Linked DNA regions of Homo sapiens: region 2 is linked to region 1. The links are contacts of gene promoters, found by promoter capture Hi-C in blood cells and fetal thymus (Javierre and others, 2016). All regions are on one chromosome and are shown on one strand. The core of a region is centred on a gene start or on the middle of the fragment in contact, and the rest is flanking DNA. Distances in the headings are between cores, read along the strand shown. Region 1 holds the start of PRPF38B (pre-mRNA processing factor 38B). Region 2 overlaps SLC25A24 (solute carrier family 25 member 24).

Region 1 (5,191 bases), core at 1,898-4,397:
GTTACTTCACAGCAGAAAATATATAAATGACAATAAGCACCTGAAAAAATGTTCAACATCATTAGTGGTAAGAGAAATGTAAATTAAAGTCACAATGAGATACCACCTTATACCCATTACAATGGCTAAAAAAAAATGTTCTGTTTTCCTTTTTAGAGACAAGATTTCTCTGTCACCCAGACCGGAGTGCAGTGTTGGGATCATGGCTAACTGCAGTCTCAAACCCCTGGGCTCTAGTGATCCTCCCTCTTGCGCCCCTGAGTAGCTGGATCTACAGGCAAGCACCACTACACCTGGCTAGATTTTTATTTTTTTGTAGATGGGTATTACTACATTGGTCCGGGTGGTCTCAAATTCCTGGCTTCAAGGGATCCTCCCTCCTCAGCCTCCCAAAGCACTGGGATTACAGGTGTGAGCCACTGCTCCCAGCCAGAATAGCTAAAACTAAGTGTTGGTGAGGTTATGGAGCAACTGGAACTGTCATACACTGCTGGTGGGAATGAAAAATGTACAACCATCTCAGCAAACAGTTTGGCTATTTCATAAGTGCTGGGTGAGGTGTCAGAGCCCTAGCACTAGAAAGTGGTCAACTCACGGGTTGGTAAGAATTTACAGACAACAGTATAGGTTTAAAAAGGAAACTTCTATTAAATAGAATGCTGCAAAAGAGTGCAGCGGGGCGCCTCAGAAAGAGAGGACTGAGTGTGCCAGTGAATTTTTCCTTAGGGATATTTATGGACCTCAAAGAGGGAGCTTACGGGCAATTTGGACCATATTAGCCATGTAGGTCATGATAAGTGATTACATTTGTAGACATTCTGGTGCCTTAATGTCAGCAAGGGTCACACAATGAGTTTTGATATGCATGCATTCAAGAGATGTATAGAAATTCTAGTTACTTATAAATTTTGGGGAAAAAAAACTGGAACCAGATGCCTGTGTTACATAACAGGAAAGTCTAATTACTTCTGAATTCCTCAGATAAGAAGTTTTTGTCTCCAGGGCCTGCTGGATGGTCACCAGGTAATTTTGCTCTGGTCATTTTCCCCTGACAAATAACTTGGTCAAATCTTGGACCCTTTATATTCCCCCATGCTCAAGTCAGCCTGTTGCATATCATGGTCTCAAGAAAGAGAAAATAGCATAGTGAAGAGGGATGTCAAGTCTATCTGGCTACTTCCTGCTGAAAGAGGGCTCTCCAGCCTGGGCCAGAGAGTGGGACTCTGTCTCAAAAAAAAAAAAAAAAAATCCAGACAGTCTAGTCACAAATGTTCACAGCATTTTCAACAACAATTTGTGTTGTTTCTAATTTGGGGCTATTACAAATAAAAATGCTGTTCCCATCAATGATTAGATAAACAAAATAGTGATAAATCCATACAACTGAATACTAATCAGTAATTAAAACAAAACACAACCTGCTGATACATGCAATAAGGAGGCAAAAAAAAAGAGAACACTGTGTGGGGATAATGATTTCATTTATTTAAGATTCAAGAAAATGCAAACTAGTCTCTACTGACAGAAAGTGGTTGCTTCGGTATGAGGTTGGAAAGAGAGATGGATTACAAAGGGCACAAGAAAACTTTTGGGATTGACAGAAGATTATGTTTATTGTAGTAGTGGTTTAATGGGTATACATATATGTCAAAACTGATCAAACCAAACTTACGGCTTTATATATGTGCAGCGTAGAGGTCTTCAATTATAACTGAATAAAGTTTTCTAAAAAATGGGGATAAAAATAACATCTTCAGCCTGTTGTAGGGATTCACTGAATATGTTAAAGCACTTTATCATAATACCTGGCTCCGAGTTTGATGCCGCTGACACTTAGATATCAAACTCAACCTCTCTACCAAGCTCTTCATCCAAACAGACTAGGGGTAAAGACTGTCTAAGACTATACAGAAAGATCATGTATCTGAGGAATTAAAAATAGGGCATAAGATTTGGCAATGTGTCACTCGGCAAACTCAATAAACTAGTATTATCAAGGCAAAAAATATATACACAAAAAGAACTGGGTTAAAAAAAATTTTTTCTATGGACTTTTAACGTGATAACTCATGACACAGGGGTTAGGATCTTCAGTTTTCCTTTGGAAGTTAATAAAAACCACTATAGAGAAAAACAAGATTTGCTAGTAAGAAGGTGAAAACTGCTTCTCCTCTCAGGGTTCTAGTTCTCTTGCAACCTAAAACAAAGGAACCAGACAGGATATCCACTTTCGTACCGTACAGCTCCAAACACTAATCAATCACTCCATTCACTTATCTTTTCTATTTCCTTGTATTCTGTCAAACAACTGTCTCTTGGTTTAAATACTTTTCTGCTGGTCTTCGCTCTCTCTCTCTCCTCTTCTGGTTTATTTTCATCCAGATGTGGATTTTCCCCAAAGTTTCCATCTTATCCTTTTCTCCTCCTGTGTATGCGCCACTGAAGTCAAGATTGCCACATTCAAACTCCCCACACATTCACACACCCACTCCCAATATACAGTATCTCGCCCAATGTTTATCACTCCGGATACATTCCTAGAATCCAAAGATCTGGAGCAGGGAGAAAAAGAAAAGGCGCCTACCAGATGCCTGGAACAGTCTACTAGGCACTACAAGTACATTAGCTCTTTCAATGCTCACAACAGCCCAGCCAGATGTTATCTCAATCTTACGGATGAATAAATTTAAGACTTCTGGCTGGACACTAGAGGCTGGCGAAGTACGTGACCTTTGATCAGAATCTCCTGGAGGAGTGGGGTCCCTGACCATTGTACCTTCCAGAGAACCTTAAAACTGAGATCCCAGGAGACCCCTCTCGGATACTCTGCAGAAGTCAGAGTGACGATATTAGCAAGCACACCGCAGCCATGCGAACCCTTCCTGGCTCAGCTCCCGACAAAAGAAATCAAGCCCCCAGTCAAAATACAACAACAACGGATTAGGCCTACAACCCTCTCCCCCGGCCCCCAAATTCTCAGGAGAAATCCCCTAAGAGTCAGGTACGGAGGTCACTGCAGCGACTTCAGCGTGCAGAGAACGCGGGGACCTAGGAAGAGGACGCTCCAGCCCAACTGAGCGTCTCTGATTGGCCGCCAGCTCAGCTTGGAACGCTGGGGTGCGTGGCGTCATATCCGCCGGGCCCGCCATCTTGTTCCCAGGGGCAGTTGGCGGAAGAGATCGAGCTCCCTGGCTGCCGGCTCGCCTTCTGCGTGGAGTTCTCGCGGTCTGGGTTTCGCTGTCTGCTCTTGGCCCGGGGTCATTTTGTCGGCGTCGGGTGCCCTCTCTTGCCCAGCTGGGGCACAGCGAGGCGGCCCCTTCTCCCGACGACGTTCGATGGAGTAGGGTCCCAGACCGTTGTCCCGAAGAGCGAGATCGAGCTTGGCCCCCTCCCCCCCCTCCTTCCCTCCCTCCTTCCTTCCGCCGCAACATGGCTAACAACAGCCCCGCGCTGACAGGCAACTCGCAGCCGCAGCACCAGGCGGCTGCAGCTGCGGCTCAGCAACAGCAGCAGTGCGGCGGCGGCGGCGCTACCAAGCCGGCGGTCTCCGGCAAGCAGGGCAATGTGCTCCCGCTCTGGGGCAACGAGAAGACCATGAACCTCAACCCCATGATCCTGACCAACATCCTGTCGTCGCCTTACTTCAAAGTACAGCTCTACGAGCTCAAGACCTACCACGAGGTGGTGGACGAGATCTACTTTAAGGTACGAAGTGTGTAGGCCTTGGCTTTGGGGGTAAGTTCGGAAGAGGGGGTATGGAGGAAACGGGCGAAGGCGGCCCCCGAAATCTGAAGATTTGTGGGTGGGGGAAGGTGGTTCGGCGGAGGGGTGGCTGCGGCCTGTAGTGTGTCTGGGAGGGGTCGGACTGGGGCCGCCCTCTCGTTTCCATTTTAGATTTTTAGGGCCGGGAGAGCCCGCCACTATTGATCTCTCTCCTCCCCCAACCTCCTGCCCACCCCTGGGGGGAGTTGGGCAAGAGGGATGGGGGAGAGGAGGAAAGAGTAACAGAAGCCTTTCCAGTTTACAGCTTTAAAATTATTCCTTTTGACGTGGATCTGCTGAGCGCCAACTTGTTGGTGCTTCTCCCGCTCACCCCTGGCCAGGGCGTGTAATGACTTCAGTATTGGCCTCGTGTTGTTGGTACTCACTATCCGATCCAGGCAGGGAAATGGTCAGTGCGTGTGTGTCGGGTGGGGTGGGGGGATGAGGGTGGAGAGGTGCCATTTCAAGAGGTGTACAGAAGGCCTGGAAATTTTCCCAGCAGGAAGTCAGGAGTAAGAGGTCTCAGCCACCTGTGCATTGGGCTAATTTAGAATTATCTGGGCCCTGGGCTTCTGCGGCAGGGTCGGTGCTGGCTTGGCTGTGCTGGGGAGCTCACCTGGCGCCTCCTCACTGCACTCTTGTCTCAGTTCTTGTTTCGTTAGCAGGATTGACTCAGTCTTGCAGCGAGGCTCGGAGCAGCCCAGGGTCGCAGGTAGAGGTATGCACTATTAATCATGCTCAATCGCCATAAATGCATTTCCCTGGTTAAATGAACGACTAATTAGATTTTTGTGGGTTTTTTTGGCCATTGCTTTTGGTCCTTCACCAATTAGGTAGGCTTTTTCCACTTCCCTGCAAATTATGTAGTATAAAAAATACCTTCCAGGCCTCCGAAAGTTAATTTCTATTTTAAAGAATATTAATAATAGCCTTAGTGGTCTTTAAAAATTTTATCCGGAGCATCTAATACACAATCCATTTTTGTCTATATTCACTCTTAAAAACTTGACAGACCGCACAAAGTGTTTTCTATCATTTGAACGTATGTGTAGAGATGGTAACAAAAGGACATTCTCTTTTGTCTTGCCCACCTTTTCCCCCAGTTGAGTAATTAGGTTATTGAAGGATTTTGAGAGATTAGTTGCTTTTTATAGAAAACATCTCTTGAATACAGTTCAACTTTGGGTTGATAAAGTACACAAATAAATTTGGAATCCTCTTACGAGAGTAGGTCTGATTGTAATTCTATGAATTAGTTTTTTTAGCTTTTAAAAGGTAAGACCTTTTTAGCATGGATACAGTATGGTGAATAACATTTAATCCTTAGCTTTATTTATGCAGTAAACTTTAAACAGTTGAAAATTGGGTTCCTGCTCTTTCTGCGGCAGGTTCTGTTTTCTAACATAGGCAAAATGTTAATGTAATAGAG
Region 2 (5,191 bases), core at 940-3,439, 510 kb before region 1:
AATACAGCCATTATGGAAAGCAGTATGGAGTTCCTTTAAAAATTAAATATAGAACTACCATATGATCCTGCAATCCCACCACTGTATGTATGTGTGTGTATACATATATATATACACATATATAAAATGAAATCAATATGTCAAAGAGCCATGTGCATTCCCATGTTCATTATAGCACTATTCACGATAGCCAAGATACGGAATCAACCTAAGTGTCCACCAATGCATGAAGAGAGAAAATGTGCTATATATATACAATAGAAAACTATTCGGCCATTAAAAAAAGAAGGAAATCCTGTTATCTGTAACAATATGAATGAAATAAGCCAGGTAAAGACAAATAAATACTGCATGATCTCACTCATGTGGAATCAGAAAAAGTTAATCTCATAGAAGCAGAGAGCAGAATACTTTGGGAGTCGGGTATGGTTTGTGTTAAAGGACACACAATTTCAGCTTGACATGAGGAATAAGTTCAAGAGCTCCACTATACAACATGAAGACTACAATTAATAATAATATATTATATTCTTGAAAAATACTAAGAGAATGGATGTAAAGTGTTCTCACCACAGAAATCATTAAGTATGAGATGTATCATGTTAATTAGCTAGACTTAGTCACTCCACAATGTACATATACTTCAAAACATCATGTTGTACATGATAAATACATGTAATTCTGTCAATTTAAAAATAAATAAATGTTTTAAGTCACTGAATTGTATACTTTAGAAAAGTGAATTTATGGCATGTGAATTACATCTCAGTAAAGCTGCTGGCTAGGTGCGGTGGCTCACTTCTGTAATCCCAGCACTTTGGGAGGCCAAGATGGGTGGATCACCTGATGTCAGGAGTTCGAGACAAGCCTGACCAATATGGTGCAAACCCGTCTCTAGTAAAAATAAAAAAAAATAGCCAGGCGTGGTGGCGCGTGCCTATAGTCCCAACTACTCAGGAGGCTGAGGCAGGAGAATTGCTTGAACCTGGGAGGCGGAGGTTGCAGTGAGCTGAGATCGCACCATTGCACTCCAGCCTGGGCAACAGAGCTAGACTCCATCTCAAAAAAAAAAAAAAGTTACCATAAAATATTTATATTAAAAATTGTGTAGCTACTTTTAAATATCCAACCCTCTGCATTATCCTTTGCTATGGACTGAGCTGTGTCCCTCCCAAATCCAAATGTTGAGGCCCTAACCCACCGTGTGATTATATCTGGAGATAGCATCTTTAGGGGGTAAAGTCAAATAAAGTCATAAGAATGGAACCCTGATCCAACAGGACTATGGCCTTATAATAGAAAGCAAGAGAAAGATCTCTCTCTCTCTCTCTCTCTCTCTCTCTCTCTCTCTCTCTCTCTCTCTCTGCCATATGACAATACAGTGAGAAGGGGTCTATCTGCAAGCCAGAAAGAGAGCCCTCACTACAACCCAACCATGCTGGCACTCTCATCTTAAACTTCCAGCTCCCAGACCTGTGAAAAACTAAATTTCCATTGTTTAATGCATCCAGCCTATGGTATTTTGTCATGGCAGCTAAGCTAATACTTCTTAGTCTATTCTGAAGCTTGGGCTTAGAATTTGCATTATTCCTAAAGCTATCAAAGAAAATATAGGAATATGATTTCTGGCCTAACAGCCAGGGAAAAGCCCTCACTTTCCTATAAGAATATTACTTTAGAAGCAGAATATTATATGCTCTATATCTCACTGTCCAAATTCTGTTTATCTTCTTTTCATGTTTTAGGTTTTCATTTCCTCAGGAAAGCCCTTCTCATCTAGTACTAACAAAAGTCATTACGTGCTCAGCCTTGAGACTTTGAGCCTTCCTCTTGAGCAGCTGTTTGTAAAAGAAATTATGAAGAGAGAGAAAGGATGAAAATGCTATTGGCACAGATATAAAATGAGATAAATTCAATAACAAAGCCATTTAGAAAGATTTTTAGACAATGTGAGGACTGAAAATATTCACAACAATATTAATACAATATAATTGTCCTTTCTGTTTTACGTTATCATAAAAAATCAGTTCCTGCCCTGTGTTTATAGCAACAGAGTATTTGAGAGCACCTGGGCTGCAGAGATTACTGCTCTATCCCATGAAACAAAACATTAAGAGTATAAAAGTCTGACTTAAATAGTCAAACTGATTGCCCCAGACAATAAGGTTCAAATTTGCATTTCTGTTTTCTGAAAGTTTAAACAGGTATTTCTTTGTTAGCTTGGAGAGCTTAGTAATTTCCCTTTTTTCCAGTCACATCTAGGTTAAATAATGTGATGAATCTGCTAGTCTTCTTAGTTTGAATCAATGAGTTTTACTGTCACATTAGAAATCAAATGGAGAAAAAGCAACACCAAAACTCTTCAGCTCCTCATCTATGGAGTTAAAACCTTACTTCCTGCCATTCCACTATCCTTTGAGGCCTTGAAAGAAAGAGTCCAGTCTGAGCTTACACTTCCCATTCTTACACTTTAGATAAATGTACACATACAAAATGAATGGGAGGAAAAAAGACAAAAAGATCTTGGATATACATAATGAAGACTAGGGAGGTGTTTTAAAGCCACACTTACAAACACAGAGTTCTAATGCAGAATATTAAAGTGAAAGTCAATTGTTGACCAACATGAAGAGCTTACCTTTGAAGAATCAACTCTGCTTGTTGTTCAGAAATAGTCAGACCCAGTGTCTGGAGAGACTGGACAATTTCTGAAGCCTCAATTTTTCCTTTAAAAAAATAAAAAGGGCAAAAAATAAAACTCAGAACTGGTAAGAACCACAGAAATTATGAATTTCAAATCTCTCATTTAAGAGAAAGCTTTAAACTGATTAAGGCAAAATTGTGCATGTAGGTGAGTTATAGACTTGCTTAAATGCCTATCCCAACATCAATACTAAAAATGTAACAAATACATTAAAAAATAAATACACATTTTTTAAAATTCAGTAATTGTAACAGCCTTATAGATAAATAATATTCCTCCAAAGAGACTGACTTCACAAGTGGCCTTACCAAGTAATGTAATTAAGAAGTAGCAGAACTAAAATCCAAATCAAGATATTCTAACTCCAAGATAAATTCAATTAAAGTAGGATCTATTCATTTTAAAAGTACCTATTTCTACATTTTTAATAAATTACTAGACATTTACTATGCAAAACATCATATATGACTGAGTTAAAGAGAAGTAGTAAATGAGGAAATAGAGCTAAAGCACAGACTATTCTTTTAAAAATCTGGCAGTAAAAGGCCAGGCACAGTGACTCACACCTGCAATCCCAGCACTTTTGGAGGCTGAGGCGGGTGGTTCACCTGAGGTCAGCAGTTAGAGAGCAGTGTGGCCAACATGGTGAAACCCCGTCTCTACTAAAAATAGAAAAATCAGCCAGGCATGGTGGCAGGTGCCCATAATCCCAGCTACTTGGGAGGCTAAAAGAGGAAAATTGCTTGAAGCTGGGAGGCGGAGGTTGCAGTGAGCTGAGATCGCGCCACTGCACCCCAGCCTGGGTGACAGAGTGAGACTCCATCTCAAAAATAAATAAATAAAAATAAAAATCTGGCAGTAAAAATAAGGGAGCAAGGATAAAAGAACAACAAAAGACAGAAAATTTTTAATACTAGGGAAATTAGAGCGTGTTTGTGGACAGAAGGAGAACAATCAGAAGACAGGAAGAGAAAATAGAAAATAAAATAGAAGCAATAAATGTAAGCACTGCTGTATTTCCTTCTAGCAGCTCACAGGCTCATGAGAATCCTAAGACTACTGTACATGAAAAAGAATGAAACAAAACAAAGTAAGAGAGGGTCTGGTGCTGAAGCAGCATAAACAGCTGACTTCTCCAGAAAAAGAGGAAGACCAAAATTACTGTTAGTGGTGAAAGGATAGACTTTCTTGGAGAAAGGACCCTGGAGAGATGACAGGATTCTGAGAGAATCCTCCTGGGGAGAGGGAAGGAGCAGCATGAGAATCTGGACCATGTAAGGACAGTGAGAGGCAGCATCTGTTAGTAAAGAAATTATGCAAATACCCTTCTGAATATTCTCCTTTAGAAATGCACTCTTAAAGAGATATGGTTAATTCTCATTATTCACAGCAATCATCTTCCATAAAGTTCTATATTCATTGCAAACACTGAATTAGCAAATACCAAACCATTGTTCCTACAGGAAAAACAGGGTTAGGTTCCTGTGAGCCTCTGATTACAACACTTTCATCAACTGATTAATACATAACCATGTCTTATGTCTGTTTCTGTTTGAACGCACCTCATTTAATGTGTGCTGTTGATTCACTAACATTGAATTTGGGGCAAAGCTTATCAAACGCATATATTTTCTCCATAAGGCATGCTATGGCTTTCTTGCACTTAGGAACACTAGACAGCACTTCAGCACTACCTTTGGGGAACATTTTAAAAAGGAAATTACCAACAAAAATACAAAAATGCAAAAACTGGCACAAAACAGACCTTGAAAGGGATACTTGCTAGTTAATAGTATGAGAGCTGAAACAAGAAGGCAGAGTATTGCCTTATTCTACTAGCTAGGAATGTACATGCTGAGCAACTCAAGTTTTTCACTGCTCTGTGCATGTCCATGAATGCCTGGGAAAGTACTGTGAGTATATATTTTGGGGTTACTTTGGGGATAAATTTTATTGAGTAGGCAAATTTGCAAATACAGAATCCCCAAATAATGAGGATCAACTGTATATGTTTTGCATTAAGGAAGTCTAAAAAATAAAAATATGAACCAATAATGCCACATTGTTTTAAAATACACAAACATGGGAAATTAGGGAAACATTGTGTAGATTTCCTACAAATATACCATCAAAATTTCATCTTTAATTATTGCCTCTGGTTCATTTAGAATTTTATAAAATGAACAATTGATATGTACACTACTTATGCACTGGGATAATTGACCTCTGATTATCTGGCAATTGATCTTAAGGTAGCTCCATCTCTCAGCTACTGCCTGCCATAGCAGCACACAGACAATCTGACCTGCAAGACAATCTGAACTGCAGAGGGTCGATGTTGGAATGAAAGTTTGCAGAGAAGAAAGAAAACTGAGTTTTGCTAGAAGACTGGACTAAGGCTAGACTTAGGGGCATATATTGTAAGGCTTATGGGCAACAAATGTTCCAATAGTACTACTTTCCAACCCAAACTCAGCTCTTCCTGGC

The links. Contacts are between HindIII fragments. The CHiCAGO score rates a contact against its expected background, and 5 or more counts as called.
Region 2: a contact is called between a fragment that was not itself captured here and the fragment with the promoter of PRPF38B in region 1, in 2 of 17 cell types (M1 macrophages and M2 macrophages). The highest score is 5.5, in M1 macrophages.

What each region holds. Positions count from the first base shown.
Region 1 is chr1:108,689,163-108,694,353 of GRCh38, forward strand. It overlaps PRPF38B (pre-mRNA processing factor 38B), which reads left to right and starts at 3,148. Exons shown (of 6, transcript NM_018061.4): 1 at 3,148-3,705. The coding sequence starts at 3,430. RefSeq lists enhancers at 2,800-2,989, 2,927-3,487, 3,070-3,399, 4,050-4,610. The HindIII fragment of the contact is 12,264 bases long and covers 1-5,191 here.
Region 2 is chr1:108,179,303-108,184,493 of GRCh38, forward strand. SLC25A24 (solute carrier family 25 member 24) reads right to left here. Exons shown (of 10, transcript NM_013386.5): 3 at 2,639-2,726. Among named protein-coding and RNA genes, the nearest start is that of SLC25A24, 18 kb to the right of the region's middle. The HindIII fragment of the contact is 1,252 bases long and covers 1,564-2,815 here.